2 separate regions of the Homo sapiens genome follow, and region 2 is linked to region 1. The links are contacts of gene promoters, found by promoter capture Hi-C in blood cells and fetal thymus (Javierre and others, 2016). All regions are on one chromosome and are shown on one strand. Each heading gives the region's core, a stretch centred on a gene start or on the middle of the fragment in contact. The rest is flanking DNA. Distances are from core to core; before and after follow the strand shown.

Region 1 (7,871 bases), core at 3,098-5,597:
AATTTAGAGTAGTCATTGAAAAAGAGGCAACGGGACGGGGTGTGCAGGAGCACATGGGGAGATGTACATCATTACTGGATTGCTGGTGTTTAAGTTGGAGAGTAGGGTAACAGTGTTCATTATAGTATTATTACTGCTACTACGATTAATACTAAATGCCTCGATTAATTAATTAACAGGCTGGGCCTGGATTAGTGAGTAAGAGCCCCAGCCCAGAGGTCAGGAAGAAGGCATTCTAGACTGAACCGCAGGCTTGCAAGCTGGGGACTCACAGCAAGTCACTCGCCACCTCTCTGGCTCTGTTTTCTTGGGTATAAAATCAAACCTCTGCACCTACCACCTACAAGGATAAGATCATGAGCATATCACTGATGTAAACTATGAGTAGCTAGCACTTATTACAGGCTTACTGTGTACCAGGCAGTGTTCTAAATGTTTTGCATATGTTAGCACACCTAATTGTCACGACCTCCCTTGAGGTGGATACTATTGTTACTCTCACTTTATAGATAAGGAAACAGGCCCAGAGAGATTAAGTAACTTGCCCAAAGTCACAGAACTAGGCAGTGGTGGAGCTGAGACTTGAGCCCAGACTTTTGGCTCCAGGGTCCACATTCTTAACAACTTCACTATGAAATAACATTGAAGAAACTGAACACACACAAGTAGATTGTTGTCAGCACAGCTCTACTGAGCCCACAGCACCCAGGGATATTCATTCGTTCGCTTGTTCGTTCATTCATTCATTCATTCATTCTTCCACAACCAAACAGAGGTCAGCATCAAGAATGCCTTAAATGTATTGGGAAATGAACCTGCCTTCTCACACTCTTTCTACAAAGAACCTTCCCTGATTCTGGAGTCCCCTGCTCTCTGTGTCTCTGCAGTCTGCTGCTTCCCTAGGACTCAGCCAGTCTCCCTCTCTTCCTAAAGCACCTCTGACAACCTCAACCCCCAGGGAGAAATCTCACCCTTCTCTGAGTGCCTGTGTGGGCTACTGAGTACCCTGTCTGTCTCTTCTCAACCCCTGCCTGGGGCATCTTTGACATCATCTAGCTCTGTGCATTCATGCACAGATAGTCCTTGCCGCTAGCCAATAGCTACTCCCTTGTACCTCCAAGGGTCTGTCCCATCCCAGGGGCCAGGCAGGAGGGCAAAAGGAAGGGTACTAGGATTGCTCAGGGTGTTCAAGGCAGATCATGCTTAGCCCAGAGCCGAGCAGGCAGCTTGGCTAGGATGTGCAGAACAAATGCATGCGTGACTGGGCTGGTACAATATTCAGTGCAAACAAGTGTGGTTCTATGCTGTGGGTGACTGGAGAAGGAGGGGCAATGACTTGAAGCAGGCAGAGAGGCTTCTTGGAGGAGGGGGTCAGGAGAAGGAGAGGAAAGGACCTTTTGTGAGGGGATGCGGGGCCAAGCCAGGTGAGGATGGGGGGATACGTGGAGGAACTGGTGGAAACAGAACAGAAAGCCTCCAGAGACTAACCATGGAGGTGGGTGGGGCTGGAAGGCCACTTCCACAGAGTGCCACACACAGGACAGCTAGCCCAAGAGACTCCAGCCAGCAAGCTAAGGCCCTGACTCTGAAACCACCACACCTACTACCCACCGCCCCCCACCCTTCCCTGGCTCCACTTCCCCTACCCTCCACTGGACACGCTGCCTCATGCCTCCGTGGGACCCTGCACGAATGACTGCACTGCCTTATCTCCCAACAGGAACACGCCCCAACCCCAATTGTGCTTCTCCAGATATCTGCGGCTGAAGGCGCCTGAAGAGCAGCACCACACATGAGCCCTCACCGGCACCAGGGATCCCGTCTAGCCTCATGCAGAACAACCACCCACCTCCACAAGAGGTTGTTTTTTGGGGGGTTGGGGTGGGGGAGGTGTCCCTCTGGGAGTCTGGGTTTTAGAAAACAATACCCAATATAGGAGAAATGGATGCCCAGAGGACAGAGGATGAAGATGAGCCCAGATGAAAGAGGACTATCGCAAGGGGTAAGTCTCTCCACCTCCCTCCCAGTCACACAGGGCCCTTGGCTTTGAGCACATGCCCATCCCCCTAAAAGCTGGTTCCCACTCTTTAACTCCAGAACCTGGGGAACACTGCAGCTTTAACTAAGCCCTACCCAGGGGCTCACACTTAAATTGTCAGGGGGTGAGGAGGGGGGCAGAGACAAGAACACCACAGGGTGCCTGTCCCTGCCTTCGCTAAGCCCCTTCCAGGAGGGGCAGCTGGGTGCTGCTGGGATCCCCGATGTGAGTCTGTGCCCTCTTTCAGCACGGTTCCAAGGAGTTATTGGTCTCTCCCCGGTGCCACCCTATACCCTCCCTCCCACCTCGGGCCACGGGTAGAAAGCAGGAAGGACAGGCATGCCATCCCAGTAGACCTGCTGCTAGTGCCTTCCCAGAGGCGTGAGGATTTTGAGCTCCTCCCTGGCTTATACAAGGACAAAGGGTCTGGGAGCAGCTGGCCCTCTTCTCCTCACTGACACTCTGCGCTGGATCTGGGGAAGCCCCAGGCTCTCTGCCGCCTGGGTGTCCCGGCTCATTGCTCCCTGGGCATGGGAGGCACCAGTGCTGAAGCCACTGGCATAATGACCAACAGGGTTGAGCCCAGAGCCGCGGGCCAGGCTGGGCTATGCGCCCTCTGGCTGCCCAAACCAAGCAGAGGACTGAGGGAGGGCTGGGCGAGCAGGAAGGGGCTGTCCAGATGCCACAGCCCCTACCTCAGGGCCTCCTGCACTCCCACCCGCTCAGGGCAGAGCTCTTCCCATCCTCTCAGGCCCCCTTCTGCCCCACCCCAACCCCAAGGCCTCTGAGAACAAAGAGGAGGTGCAGGCACAGTCAGGCTGGACCAGGCTGGGCTGCGACCCCAGCAGGAACCGGGAGGGGCTGCCCACTGGCCTGGCCCCACCCCTCCTTCTCAAAGTGGGATCCGCCCGGAGGGTCACATCTCCTGGCATGCCTTGAGAGCAGAGAGCCCACAGCCCACCCCGAAAAGGGTGTGAGGGGGAGCAGGAGGCTCCCTCCTTACCTCCCTCTTCTCAGCTGGTTCCCACCTCCCACCCGCTCTGCCTTAGAATGAAAAGTGGGGCAAGAGGAGGTGAGAAGCCCGGGCTGAACGCAGACAAAGGGGAGGCCCCTAAAGCGTTCCTGGGCGCTCCCGGTCCCCAACTCCCTTCCTTCCACTCTCCCTACTCCCCATCTCCTTTTCACTGGGCAGGAGCTGGAAAGGGGCGATGCTTGTGTGTGGTGGGGAGCTGCCATCCAGGCTGGAGCTTGTGGAGAAACCCAGCCCCTGACCTGTGTCCACCAGCTAGGGAGTGTCTGGTGCTGGTGGGGGCTGCCTGGGGGTACCTGGGGTCCACGAAGGGAGGTACCCACCCAGGGCTGAGCAGGGGGCTTACCCTCTAGAGTGACCAATACTCAGAATGGGAGGGGGGACAGGAAGGGGAGACCAGAGCAGGTCTGGGACACCCGTGGGGGCCCCTCCCCAGCTCCAGGCTCCCAGCTTACAAACCCGGAATTTGTTGGGGTTGGAGAGAGGGGAGGTGGAAAAGGAAGAATTTTCATTTCTGAGGCTTGAGGGGAAATCAGGCCTATGACCCCAAAGGAGGTCTGGGTGGCACCGAGGTGCCCTGCAACCCCAGGAGGGCGCAGCCAGGGCCGATGGCGGCCCCCAGGGGCACTCGCCGCGGGGCTGCCCGCTCGGGGCTCGGCCGCGGCCGCCTGGCTCACCTGCATCTCGGGCGCGCCTTCGGTCCGCTCGGCTCGGTCACCAATCGCATGTCTCTCCAGCCGGCCCGACCAGGCCCCAGCCCCTGCCCAGCCCCCTCCTCCGTTTCCTCCTCCTCCGACACCTCCGCCCGGCAGTCCGCGCGCCCTCGCGGGGCTGGCTGTCCGTCTGTCCGCCCCGCGCGGGCGGGAGCCGAGCCGGAGCCGGGGCCGGGGCTCGGGAGTGGGGAGGCGGGAGGCCGCGGCCCCGGCGGGCGGATGGGCGGGCGCGCTCAGGCCGCGGGACAGGGGCTGCGCGAGCCTGCTTCTGCCCCCTGGGCCGGCCCGGAGCCGCCGCCGCCGCCTCTGCCGCTGGGGCCGGGGTCGAGGCCGGGCGCGCTCCGCCGCGGGGCCGGGGCCGGCGGGCAGCGGCCGCGCATGCTGCTCGGCGCCCCGCGTCGGGAGAGGGGCCGGAGCGGCGCGGGTGGGGACTCCGCGCCCTCCGGGGCCGGGACCAGGACCCACCGCCGCCGCCGCCGCCTGCGCTGTCGCCCGCCGCCCGCTCCGGCTCCCGCGCCGGCTCCCGCTCGGGCTCCGCGCTCTGCAGCGGCGCGGGGAGGGAGCACTAGGAGCGAGCCAGGGAGGGAGGAGGGATCGAGGGAGGAGGGAGCGAGTGAGCCGCGGGAGCCGGGCGGGGGAGGAGAAGGCGCGGCCGCAAAACCTGGTGATGGTGGTGGTGGGGTGGGGGGTGGTTCGTCTCCTTTCAGCGGAGGGGGCGGAGAGCGAGGGGCGCCCCAGCCGCTGCCCTGCACGCTTAGGGCAGCGAAACAGGCAGGGGTGCGCAGGCGAGGGGCGCACCAGCCAGGCGCTCCAGCTCTGCACACGGCCGCGCCCCTCCGGGTCCGGGGCTCTGGGCGAGTCCCGGGCCAGCCGGGTGTCGGGGAGTCCGGCGTGCGGTCCTCCCTGGGTGTATGCGCGCACACCGTTGTGTGTGATTTTTGTGTTGCCACATGCGTGTGCATGTGAGCGCGCGAGTGTGTTTACACGTGTTAACTGGGCTGTGGACGAACACACGCACGAGGACGGACAGGGCTCCCTACACGAACAGGGTTGTTTGGAGGGCGGCATGGGGAGGCCGACCGGGAGCCCCCGTCCTGGCCCTGTCCCCTCCTCTCGAAAGTCCGCGAGGCTAGAGGGCCCACATTCTAGCGCGGGAGGGCGAGGCAGGCAGAATGGGAAGCTCCAGGGGACGGCGAGGAAGCCGCGCTGGCCCGGCAGCTCTACCCAGGAGCCGGGGTCCCCGCCCAGCCTGGCTTCCTGTCCAGCAGAGGGCGGCAGGCCTCTCTGGCCCGCTCCGTCCGGAGGCCCTGCACCCAGTGGCCAGCAGAGGGCAGCGCAGAGCCTCCGCCTGGGCTTGACTGTTCCCTCCTCCCGGAATGGTCCCGGGGATCCTCGGCTGGGGCCACAACTTCAGACGGGCCCAAGGAATGGGACCTCTCCTCGGAGATCCAGATCCTCCTTGATCCTCAGATACAGAAACTAGGCCAGCAGGGATGTCTTGGCAAAGCCTGCAGAGTAGGTTACCACCCTCAGGACCTCACCTTTTTCCCTATACTACCCCCTCCATCTCCTTGAAGCCAGACGCCCTTTACCACCAAGCCAGTTTTATTAGAATAACCATCAATGCTGACACCGCCCGGCACGGCCATCCCTCCTCCCCTGCTGGGAACAACCCATTAGCACATGAATACTCCTAATAGCTTGAGTCCACAGGGGCAGCTGAGGCTGGGGGAGGGGATCTAGCCCAAAGCCTCTCGGATTCTGGGGCAGACGCTGGAATCCCAGTTCCAGTGACACCCCCTCTCCCAGGAAGCCTGCGCAACATCATTGCAGAGATGCCTGGTTGCCACGGAGGGACCTCTCCCCACCCCCAACAGCACCTTGTTTCTCGCTGTTCAGCCTCACACACAGCCCAAAGGCTTGCACAGACCTTCTGTTCCAGCTGCACCATTTCTGGGTACTTCTCAGTCTCTCTGGCACACCGTTGCTCTGGACAGTCCTGTCTGGAGCACTTTCTCCTGTCTCCTATGTCTATGCCCATCCTCAACCTAGGCCTAGCTAGAGTCCCTCCTAGCAGGCGTCCATGCTATGCTCTACTGTGAACTGTACGTTCACCCTCCAGCAACTCTGGGGGAGGCACTATTGTTCCCCTGTGACAGAGGGAGGGAAGCCCAGGCCCAGAGAGGTTCCAGGCTCTGCCCATGGTCACACAGCCAGCAAGCCACGGAAAGGGAACTGGACTCGTCTTCTATGGCTGAATGGACCAGCAGGGGGCAGGCTCGGCAGAAGGACTTACAGGTGGGAGGTGAAGCAGGGAGGCCAGCACAGGAGTCCCCCTCCCTGCCAGAGCCCAGCGCAGGCGACTCCCCGGTCCCTCAACTCCGCGCTGCCTGGACCCCTCCCCAGACTCCCCAGCCCCCCCACCCCGGCTGTTTGTGAGCTACCCGTGCGCTCCCGCCCTCCCGCGCCGCCTCCTCCCACCAGCCCGACAGGAATAGACGCTCGCTGGCTCCTGCGTAAAGGCTCCGCCAGGCACCCGGCGGGCGCGCAGACCCGCTGGGGGGCGGGGGCGGGGGCGAGGGCTATTCCTGGTGCGGTGACTGACGCAGGCAAGGCGCGGCCACCACATCTCTCCGCCCCCGACTCACCTGCTCCCTGCCTCAGTGATCTCGGCGGAGAAATGGGGGAGAGCCCACTCATTCCACCCCGCTAACCCCCAGGTGCTACCGGAGGAAGCTGGGGTCCTAGGGTGGGGTATTTTGGTGCCCACAATGATCCCTCCGCGCCTCGGAGGCAGCAGGGATGACCACGGAGCTGTGTCTGGGAGGAAGAGCCCCTTGGCCTCGGTTCTCCACTGTCAATGGCATCCAAGCCATTCCCCTTTCCCTTTGTCTCCAAAAGACATGACCCCTCCCAGCTCTCCCTGTTTTATTCCAATGGAAACGACGGGGAGCTTTGGGGGAACAACTTGGAGGATAGGCCTTTTTGAGGGTCTAGTTTGGGCCTGGTGAGAGTACGGGTCCCTGGCATTGTCACCTAGAGACTCCAGGAAAAGGGGGTCTGTCACTGGGTCCCCACCCAGTTACCTCTGCATGAGCTGTGGAACAGGCATCTCTCCTCTCCTGTCGGGTGGGGTGGTTCCCAGCAGAGTCCTCTCAGGGGTCCCAGGGCCATGGAGAATGTGACACACCGGGATGGCCTAGTCCAAGTGTGCTCTGGCACAACCAGGGGATCATGTCCAGGAGCTACAGCTGAAGAATGTTCCCCGCACCCCAGGCCTTTGTGCCTGCTGGACCACCCTGGTGGCGTGCCTTTTCCCTGATTTCTACCTGTGCTTCAAAACCCAACCAAGACCCATCTCTTCTATTCCTGTCTCCTCTCCCCAGACTGAAATGACATTAGAGGCAAGGCCCAAATCTTTTCCCTCTATCCTCAGACTAGGTGCTCCCAAGAGCAGATCTGAGACTGCGTGTCTCATAGGTGGGCACACAGCAGACCCTGGCTGCAGGCTGAGAACTCAGCAAGTCCCAATAAAGCAGGAGCCAGTGGCTGGAAGGAGCCAGCCTGACTGCTCACTGCAAAGTGGAGAAGCTGGAATGGGTTTGCCCGGGAACACAGGAGGAGGGGAGAAGGCCCTCCACCATGTATTCAGCCCTTACTATAAGCCAGACTCAGCCACACTTCACATCTTTGTCTCTCTGCAAGATTGGCATTGCTGTTCCTACTGTACAGATGAGAAGACCGAGGCTCTGGGAGGGCTGGTGACTTGCTCAAGTTCACTCTGTGCACGAGTTAGAGCTGGGCTTTGAAGCTCTGTGTGTATCTAATGTTAGTCCTGCTCTCCTTTCACTCTGAGAGGCTGAGGAGGCAGGAGGTGGAGCTGGGGCAAGGACCAAGGGTCCCCCAGGCACAGAAAGGAGAGGGTGGCACACACAGGCCTGCCTACATGCCTGCTCTATGCTGGTCCTATCCACTGGCATCCCAGCAGCTCGCAGGGTTTTACGATGATGATTATTTCTGAAGGCACTTGAAATTAATGACGGCTCTAAAATGGCTGGGACAGCAGAGTCATTGCTGAGACCTCTAATTA
Region 2 (7,871 bases), core at 2,123-4,622, 220 kb after region 1:
CTGGGCTTAAGCGATCCTCCCACCTCAGCCCATCAGTAGCTGGGACTACTGGTGCACACCACAAAGCCCGGCTAATTATTTTTGTATTTTTAGTAGAGACAGGATGTCACCATGTTGCCCAGGCTGGTCTTGACCTCCTGGGCTCAAGCCATCTGCCCGCCTTGGCCTCCCAAAGTGCTGGGATTATAGGCATGAGCCACGGCACTCAATGAAAACTTTTTAAAATTGGAAACAAAAAAAAAAAAAAGAGAGGTAGAGAGGTGAAACAATTTCATCTATCATAACCGAACTGCAGAGTCTCATTTTACATCCTGTAAAAACTTTTCATTCTGTGTCTATCTTTGAAAAGTTATAACTTGTTTGGGTAGTCCCATTATACCTGATTTTTTTGGAGGTTTGAGGATGGACTTTAGATAGAGGCATGAATGTGTTGACCAAGGCGCCGGGGGAGAAATCTTTGCCAGATACTTTTAGGACCCTAGCCTCATGTTTATCCTGTCAACACCCAGGGAAGTGGGGAGTGGCTGAGGGTCAGAGAGGCACAGGCGCTTGTCTGTGGTCACGTGATGATTAATGGCACAGCTAGAAATGGAACGCAGGTTGCCTCCCCTCACCACCCCAGCTTTTCCCCTCTCCCCAGACCACCCCCAAGATGCAGGGAGATTGTGAAGTCTCATTCCTGGGGCTGATTCAGACCAATCTTGTGTACGAGACCTCGTTCCCCAGGCCAGAGACAGGCAATGCCAATGCCCCAGGGGATGCTGTTTAGCAGTCCAGCCTCCCCTCACTCTCTCTTGGGGAGTCTGACAGATCTTAGAACCAGATGGAGCTGTGGCATTGATGGACAGAGCACTGTCTCCATCACCTGGTGTCTGAGGCTCACCTTTACTCGCAATCAGCAGGAAGGATTGTCTTACAAGTCCAGAGATAGAGCATTCAAGGTGGACAGAAAAAAAGCTCTTGTTAGAAAATCATCATTCTTCTTTGCAGCTGCTTAAAGTGAGGCCCAGCCATCCCTTAGTTAATATCTCCGCCTACTTGGGAAGAAAGGTAAATCATTGACAACTGCTCATGAGAGTGACTTGGCCCAGCAGTGCGCTTATAAAACCCCGGACTGGTAAAGTCCCTCATCTGTGAAATGTCCTTCCCCAGAGAGCTTCTAGAGTGCACAGGCATCCAGCGATCTGTGGGCACAATTAGAGCAGAGGCTGGATGCAGCTCTGGGCTCTCTGCCAGGCCAGCTCTGCCACTTCTCTCCCTTTGTGGGCTCCCATTGATTGAGTCAGGATGGCATCGGATTCCCCCACGAGCTCTGACCTAATGGGTTGGACTCTAAGGCAGCCTTGAAGAGAGTCACCAGCCCACCAGCCTGGGGCTAGTAACACGTATCCCAAGGGGAAAGAGGAGTGATGCCCCCATTGCCTGGAACTCCCGGGGAGTAGAGGGAAAGCAGGTCCCACCCAATTCCTTCACACTGTCACAGTCTTAGAAGAAAACATTGTACAAATTCACATCGAAGACTCAAAAATAAGTCACGGAGCAGTCAGGGCTAAATGAAGCCTCAGAGCACATTAGCTCAATCCCCTTATTGCTCTGGGCAGGAGATGGAGGCCCAGAAAGGGTGAGCCCCCTGCCCAAGCTCACACAACAGGGAAGCGGACCTGAGTCTGCAGCCTCCAGAGTTGCAGCAGTTGCCGGCACCTCACAAGCTCGAGGCCTGTGGCAACGGGGACCGAATCTCCACTGCCCAAAGCGGAAGCCTCAGGAGCAGAAGAGAGAGGAAAAGGAGGGGAGAACAGAGCGCAAGGGGCAGGAAGGGGCATGAATTTGCTCAGTCCAACTGCAGCTTGATCAATTACAAACGGGGTGTGGCAGCAGAGCGGCTGCTGGAACCACAGCTCCCCGGAGCCCCATCAGTCAGCGATATAGTAATAAAGCGACCAGGGCTGGAAAAATGCTATGAGACTCCAGGGAGTTCAGTCTCATCCCGCTGGATTATAACCCTGTTATCGACACCCCAGGGACTTATTCTGTTTCTTTCAACCCAGCTCGGGAGATGAAACCTTCCGCGGGCGCTAGGGGTGGGGTGCTGGCTGGTGGGATGCAGCCCAAACCCAAAGGAACGGCTGGGAGCAGGAGAGGCAGGAGCGGGAGTGGGTTCAGCCAGAGGCACGTCTGCCAGACATATCTGGGGCGACCCTTCTCCCTGACCCCCAACTCCAGTGTCCACTGAGGCCTCAGCTATGCACTGGGCTGTGCTGTGGGGGTCAGAGGGAGGAGAAGCTGGGGGCCTGGCCTGGGAGTCCCAGAGTGCCTGGGGCACAGTCCTCACATGCCAAAAGATCAAAAAGAATAGCAGATACTCAGCGGTTCAGCTGCTGAAATGCACAAGACAGAAAGCGCCCTGGAGGTTTCAGAGTGGAGGACAAGCTTCCTGGAGGAGGCGAGGCCACACCAGCGATCGAAGGGTCATAATTCTGTTGCTGAACGTTGGCCACAGTTTTCTGCAGGCCTCCACCTCCTCCTTATCCTTGCATCCAGGGTCAGAAACTGTCCTAAACAGCAGGTGTTCTCTGACTATAAAACTCTCCTGGCAACCCAGTGCGTCCAGGAAGAAGTCAGAATTCCATCACATAATAATAAAATTCAGCCATAAACAGAAATGAAATTCTGATACATGCTACAACATGGGTGAAACTTAAAATCGTTATACTAAATGAAATGAGCCAGACACACAAGCACACGAGGACAAATGTTTTACGATTCCACTTACATGAAGTATCTAAAATAGGCCAATTCATAGAGACATGAAGTAGTAAAGAGGTCACCAGAGGCTAGGGGAAGGGGGACGGGGACTAACTGTTTAGTGGGTACAGTTTCTGTTTGAGATGATGCAGAAGTTCTTGAAATGGATAGTAGTGATGTTTTGTTTGCACAACATTTTGAATGCACTTAACGCCACTGAATTGTACATTTAAAAACGGTTAAAGGCCTGGAGTGGTGGCTCACACCTATAATCCGAGCACTTTGGGAGGCTGAGGCAGGAGGGTTGCATGAGCCCAGGAGTTCGAGACCAGCCTGGGCAACATGGCAAGATCCCCTGCAGTGGGCTTCTGTCCTGGCCACTGCAAATAACTCACTGCCTCCTATTGGCACCAGGTCCTGTCATGGCGCTGCACATGCTATTCTCTTGTCCTGGAATTCCAGCTCTTCTCCTCTTCCTGGATAACACGAGCTGGTTCTTCAAGACTCCACTGGTACACCACCATCTCAGTGAATTCCCCTACCGACGTGTTCCCTACACAAGCAGAGTCAGAGGCACCCTCATCTGGGGACCCACATCTCCTGGGCTGCCCACATCAAGGTCCCTAATTTGTGGGTACATACAACAATGCCACCCTCTTGAAGTGGGGCTGGACGAGGCAGCCCAAGACATCACAATAAAGATTCCAGCATGCCAGGCACACGCCGATAGCCCCAGCTATTTGGAAAGCTGAGGTGGAAGGATGCTTGAGCCCAGGTGTTCAAGATCAGCCTAAGCAACATAACCAGACCCTGTGGCAAAAAAAAATGAAAAGATTCCAGGATCACTTCCCGTAGGTACTCTTAATTAAAGCCGCAACAAGCCACATGACTGATCAGAGGTAGGATATGGGTTCTTTCTCCAGCATTTCAGATGTGAATGTAAGCCATTGCTCAAAAGCAGTGGAAGCATTGCTATAACATTAGGGTCAAGCTGAATATTAACTTCCCAAGGGAATGCAGGGATATTTTGGTCCACCAGCAACTGAGAATAAAAAAAAGAAGATAAAGACCAGGAGAAGATCAAAAGCACATCTGAAAGCTGCAGCCAGCCTATCTCTCTAGGGAAATTTTAAAGTGACCCAACTAGAAGAATTAAAAACAGGTATTAGCTCAGGAACTTTATGATCTATAAAAATAATACCCATCAATCAAGATCTGGTTTCTCATTCTATCCCAGTATAGATGATGCCAAATTTACGTAAATAAAATCATGTTTATTAGATAGGCAGAGAGAGACATGGAGACATATATGACTAGACATACTTAGATTTATAAAATCGCAATGAGACTTAGACACCTGCACATCTTATGTGTCAGCAAAAACAGTGATTTATTTATGTCTCTGTTTCCTCAACTTGACTATGAGCTCCTTGAGGGCAGGTCCTTTATCTCTGTGGTCCCACTGTAACGGAGTACCACACATAAAAGGAAGGAAATAAATGTCTGCTTTGTAAATGAATGAGTTATTCTTTGCATCTCCAGCACCCAGCACAATGGGTGTTTCTCAGAGGAAGCTTCCCACCTGACATGCTGCCCTCACCTGCACCCCAGCTCTGCCTCCCATTGTTAAGATGAGAGCAGCAGGAAGCAGAAGTTGCTGCACAGAGGGGAGGGTTGTGCACTGGCTCCTTGCTCAGCTGGCTGGGAGGGACCACAGAGAATTGAGGAGCCTCCACCCTGAGAGGCTGGACTGCCTGGGACCTGGGGCCTGAAGACTGAGGCAGGAGCTGCACAGAACTCTCAGGAGCTGCAAGTAGCTCAAAATCTGCAGCTTGGACTGATGAAATCAAAATGAAGTTGCAAGAAGAGACCATTCACAGGAGCAGTGTCCATTACAGCAAACAAATTAGAACAACTTAAATGCCTTTTGAAAGGAAAATGGATACATGGGGGCAGAATCTTTCCATGGAATACTGTACTGCAATGAAATTGAAAAAAAAAAAAGACCACTATGTACAATAGTATGTGTGAATCTTAACATGATGTTGAGTGAAAAAGTAAATCTCAGAAGATCATATATAACACGATGCCTTTTTATAAAGATCACAAACAGCTCAAATCAGCAATGTATTGCTTAGGCATCCACAGATATGTGGTTGTGGCGGAATTACCCATGTTCAATGAGTCTTCTGGTTCTTCCTTCATTTTGGAAGGCATTTTTCCTTCATGCCCTCTTGAAATTAGGGATAGCCTTGGGAAGAGCTTTGGCCAGTAAAATGTCAGCAAAAGTGCTCGGCATCACTTTTGAGCAGAAACGTCTAAGAGCTGGCACATATTTCTTATTCTTTTCCTCCCCCAACCAAAGCAAACCCCAGAACTTAGAGTTGAAATGGCAGTATCATTAGATAGTGGCTGTGCCATCCACATGCCTGGGTCCCTGAGTGCCTGCAATGAGCAGAGCCTCTGCCAAACTGCATTGGCAGAAAAAGAAGCCTCTTTCAGGGCAAGCCACTGAGACTGGGGGTTGTTACTGTGGTGTAACCTAGTTTATCCTAACTGATACAGAAACAAATTTAGGCCAGGCGTGATGGCTCATGCCCATAATCCTAGCACTTTGGGAGGCCCAGGCGGGCAGATCAGTTGAGCTCAGGAGTTTGCAACCAGCCTGGCCAACATGGTGAATCCCCATCTCTACAAAAAATACACACACACACACACAAAATTTAAAAATTTAGCTGATCATGGTGGTGAGTGCCTATAGTCCCAGCTACTCACAAGGCTAAGGTGGGAGGATCACTCGAGCCTGGGAGGTGGAGGTTGCAGTGAGCTGAGATCGTGCCAGTGCACTTCAGCCTGGGCAACAGAGCAAGACTCTGTCTCCAACAAAAAAAAAAAAAAAAAAAAGGAAAAAGGAAAAGCAGAGATAAATTTATGTTTGAAAGGGCAAGAGGGCCTGGACATAGTGGTTCACACCTGTAATCTAAGCACTTTGGGAGGCCAATGCAAGAAGATCACTTGAGGCCAAGAGTTTGAGGCTTCAGTGAGCTATGATCACACCCCTGCACTCCAGCCTGGGCAACAGGGAGAGACCCCATCTCTTAAAAAAAAAAAAGAAAAAAAAGATAAGGGAGTAATACATACAAAATTCAGCATAGTGCTGACCTCTGAGGAGGCGGCAGGGAGAAGGGAGAGGGACAGAGGGAGGGGCACAAAGGTAGGTACAAATATTGTTAAGGTTCCAGATCTTGGGTTGAGCTCTGAGTTTAAAGGTGCTTGCTGTGTTATTGCAAACACATTTATTAATTACAGTGGCCCTGCATGAGCCAATAGTAACAGTGCATCCTAACTAGGGGGTGTGATTAACTCAATTGTGTGTACCTGAGGTTCATTTAAAAAGGAAAAGAAAAGGACTATTGCTCAACTATGAGCTGGAAACTCAGTACTGGGTGTGCCCAAGGGGAGCATGCAATCTCATCTTGTAGGCAATGGGCACCCACTGAGGGTATAGGGGAGGGCAAGGGTGGGGCTCAGAGGTGTGTTTTTTCTCCTAATTCCCTAAGGTCCAGGACCTGAGATTCCATTCCCCACAGCCCCTCCTCCAGGCCCCCAGGAAACTCTCACTCTAGCCAGCTGGTTAGAGGTGGGAGACAGGATGATCACAGAGACTTTGTTCCTGGCAGCTTGTCAAACCTGCCACAAAGCCTCATTTCAATGTATTTGCATGAAATGATTTTATCCCAGCTGCCTCCTCGTCCCTGCCCCCACCCCAGGGGCCCTTGCAGGCCTGGCTCCCAGGCAGTGACCTTACAGGCCCCTGGACCAATCCCAGACCCCCTTTGATTATATCAAGTTTATTGGTAAGAATTCTGCTTTTCCTGCATGCTGGGAATCATGAATCTTACACAACTTTCTCTCTTTCATGATCATTGCAGTCCATGGGGAGCCGCTGAGGAGTTGTAGGCAGGGGGGACGTGGTGGGATGTGCAAGGTGGAAGCTCACTCTGGCTGACAGGGAGGGACAAGGGTGGAAGTAGGGAGACCACCAAGGCAGGAAAGGGAGGACATCTGGACTGGGGAGGGACAGAGGGACGGAGCCATGGAGCAGATCTGAGAGCCACTCAGAAGGTAGGACCACGGAGCTCAGCAGCGAGTCCCAAGCCCAGCTTCATGGCCACGGGGAGGAAACAGAAGCAGTCCTGTCCCCCGGACTCTGGGCACCACAGGTCACAGCTAAGGCTGAAGCCAGATTGGATGGTCCAGTGCCAGAGAGAGGAGTATGGGGTCGGGGGGCAGGAGGGAGGCAGGGAATAAGTGACTATTTGTCATTGGACCTTTAGAGCTATTTGAGTATATTAATTTGACCCCAAGATTTCAACGAAAAAAAAAAGAAAGCACATTAGAGTCAGACTGCCACGGCCTTGGACATTCACTATCCACACCGCACAGGCAAGCTGCAGGCAGTTCACGACCCCTCAAGATAGTGCACCGAGTTGGTTATGTGGATGCAGATTTTTTCTGAAAAGTATGTTCTATTGAATTCTCAAAAGGGCCTGTGACCTGGCAATAATGATAATACTTAACATTTAAATACACTAACATGGTATATACCATATGATATAGATACAGACATAGACATACAGACACATAAACAGACATGGATACAGATACAGATCAACTCATTTAATCCTCTCAATGGCTCAAGGAGGAACATTGTATTGTCATGTCCATTTTATAGATGTAGGGACTGAGGTACCAGGAGGTTCAGTGGCTTGCTGAAGCTTGCTCAGTTAGTGAGATTTGAGTCTAGAGTTTCAGCCACAACTCTGGCCCCATCTGGTCTAATACTGAACTTGTCAGGTAGACAAATGAGACCCCGGGGCACAGAAGCGTTCACCCTGGGTTCCACCAACAGAGAGTGCTGGCCCCTGTGGACTCACAAACATCTGTGCTCCCAACCCTTCTTGGGCCTCTCACTTCAAGAGTAATAGGAAATCTCAAGGCCAGGTGCAGTGGCTCACGCCTGTAATCCCAGCACTTTGGGAGGCTAAGGTGGGCGGATTACTTGAGGTCAGGAGTTTGAGACCGGCCTGGCCAACATGGTGAAACCCCATCCCTACTATGAATAC

Evidence for each region. Contacts are between HindIII fragments. The CHiCAGO score rates a contact against its expected background, and 5 or more counts as called.
Region 2: a fragment that was not itself captured here is called in contact with the fragment with the promoter of LINGO1 in region 1 in 2 of 17 cell types (endothelial precursors and M1 macrophages); the score reaches 6.4 in endothelial precursors.

What each region holds. Positions count from the first base shown.
Region 1 is chr15:77,628,565-77,636,435 of GRCh38, forward strand. LINGO1 (leucine rich repeat and Ig domain containing 1) reads right to left here and starts at 4,348. Exons shown (of 2, transcript NM_032808.7): 1 at 3,746-4,348. The coding sequence starts at 3,751. LOC105370906 (a long non-coding RNA gene) reads left to right here. Exons shown (of 4, transcript XR_001751806.2): 4 at 1,721-1,897. RefSeq lists enhancers at 1,207-1,772, 5,167-5,730, 5,172-5,301. The HindIII fragment of the contact is 14,548 bases long and covers 1-7,871 here.
Region 2 is chr15:77,850,714-77,858,584 of GRCh38, forward strand. No RefSeq gene overlaps it. Among named protein-coding and RNA genes, the nearest start is that of LINGO1-AS2, 190 kb to the left of the region's middle. The HindIII fragment of the contact is 1,889 bases long and covers 2,429-4,317 here.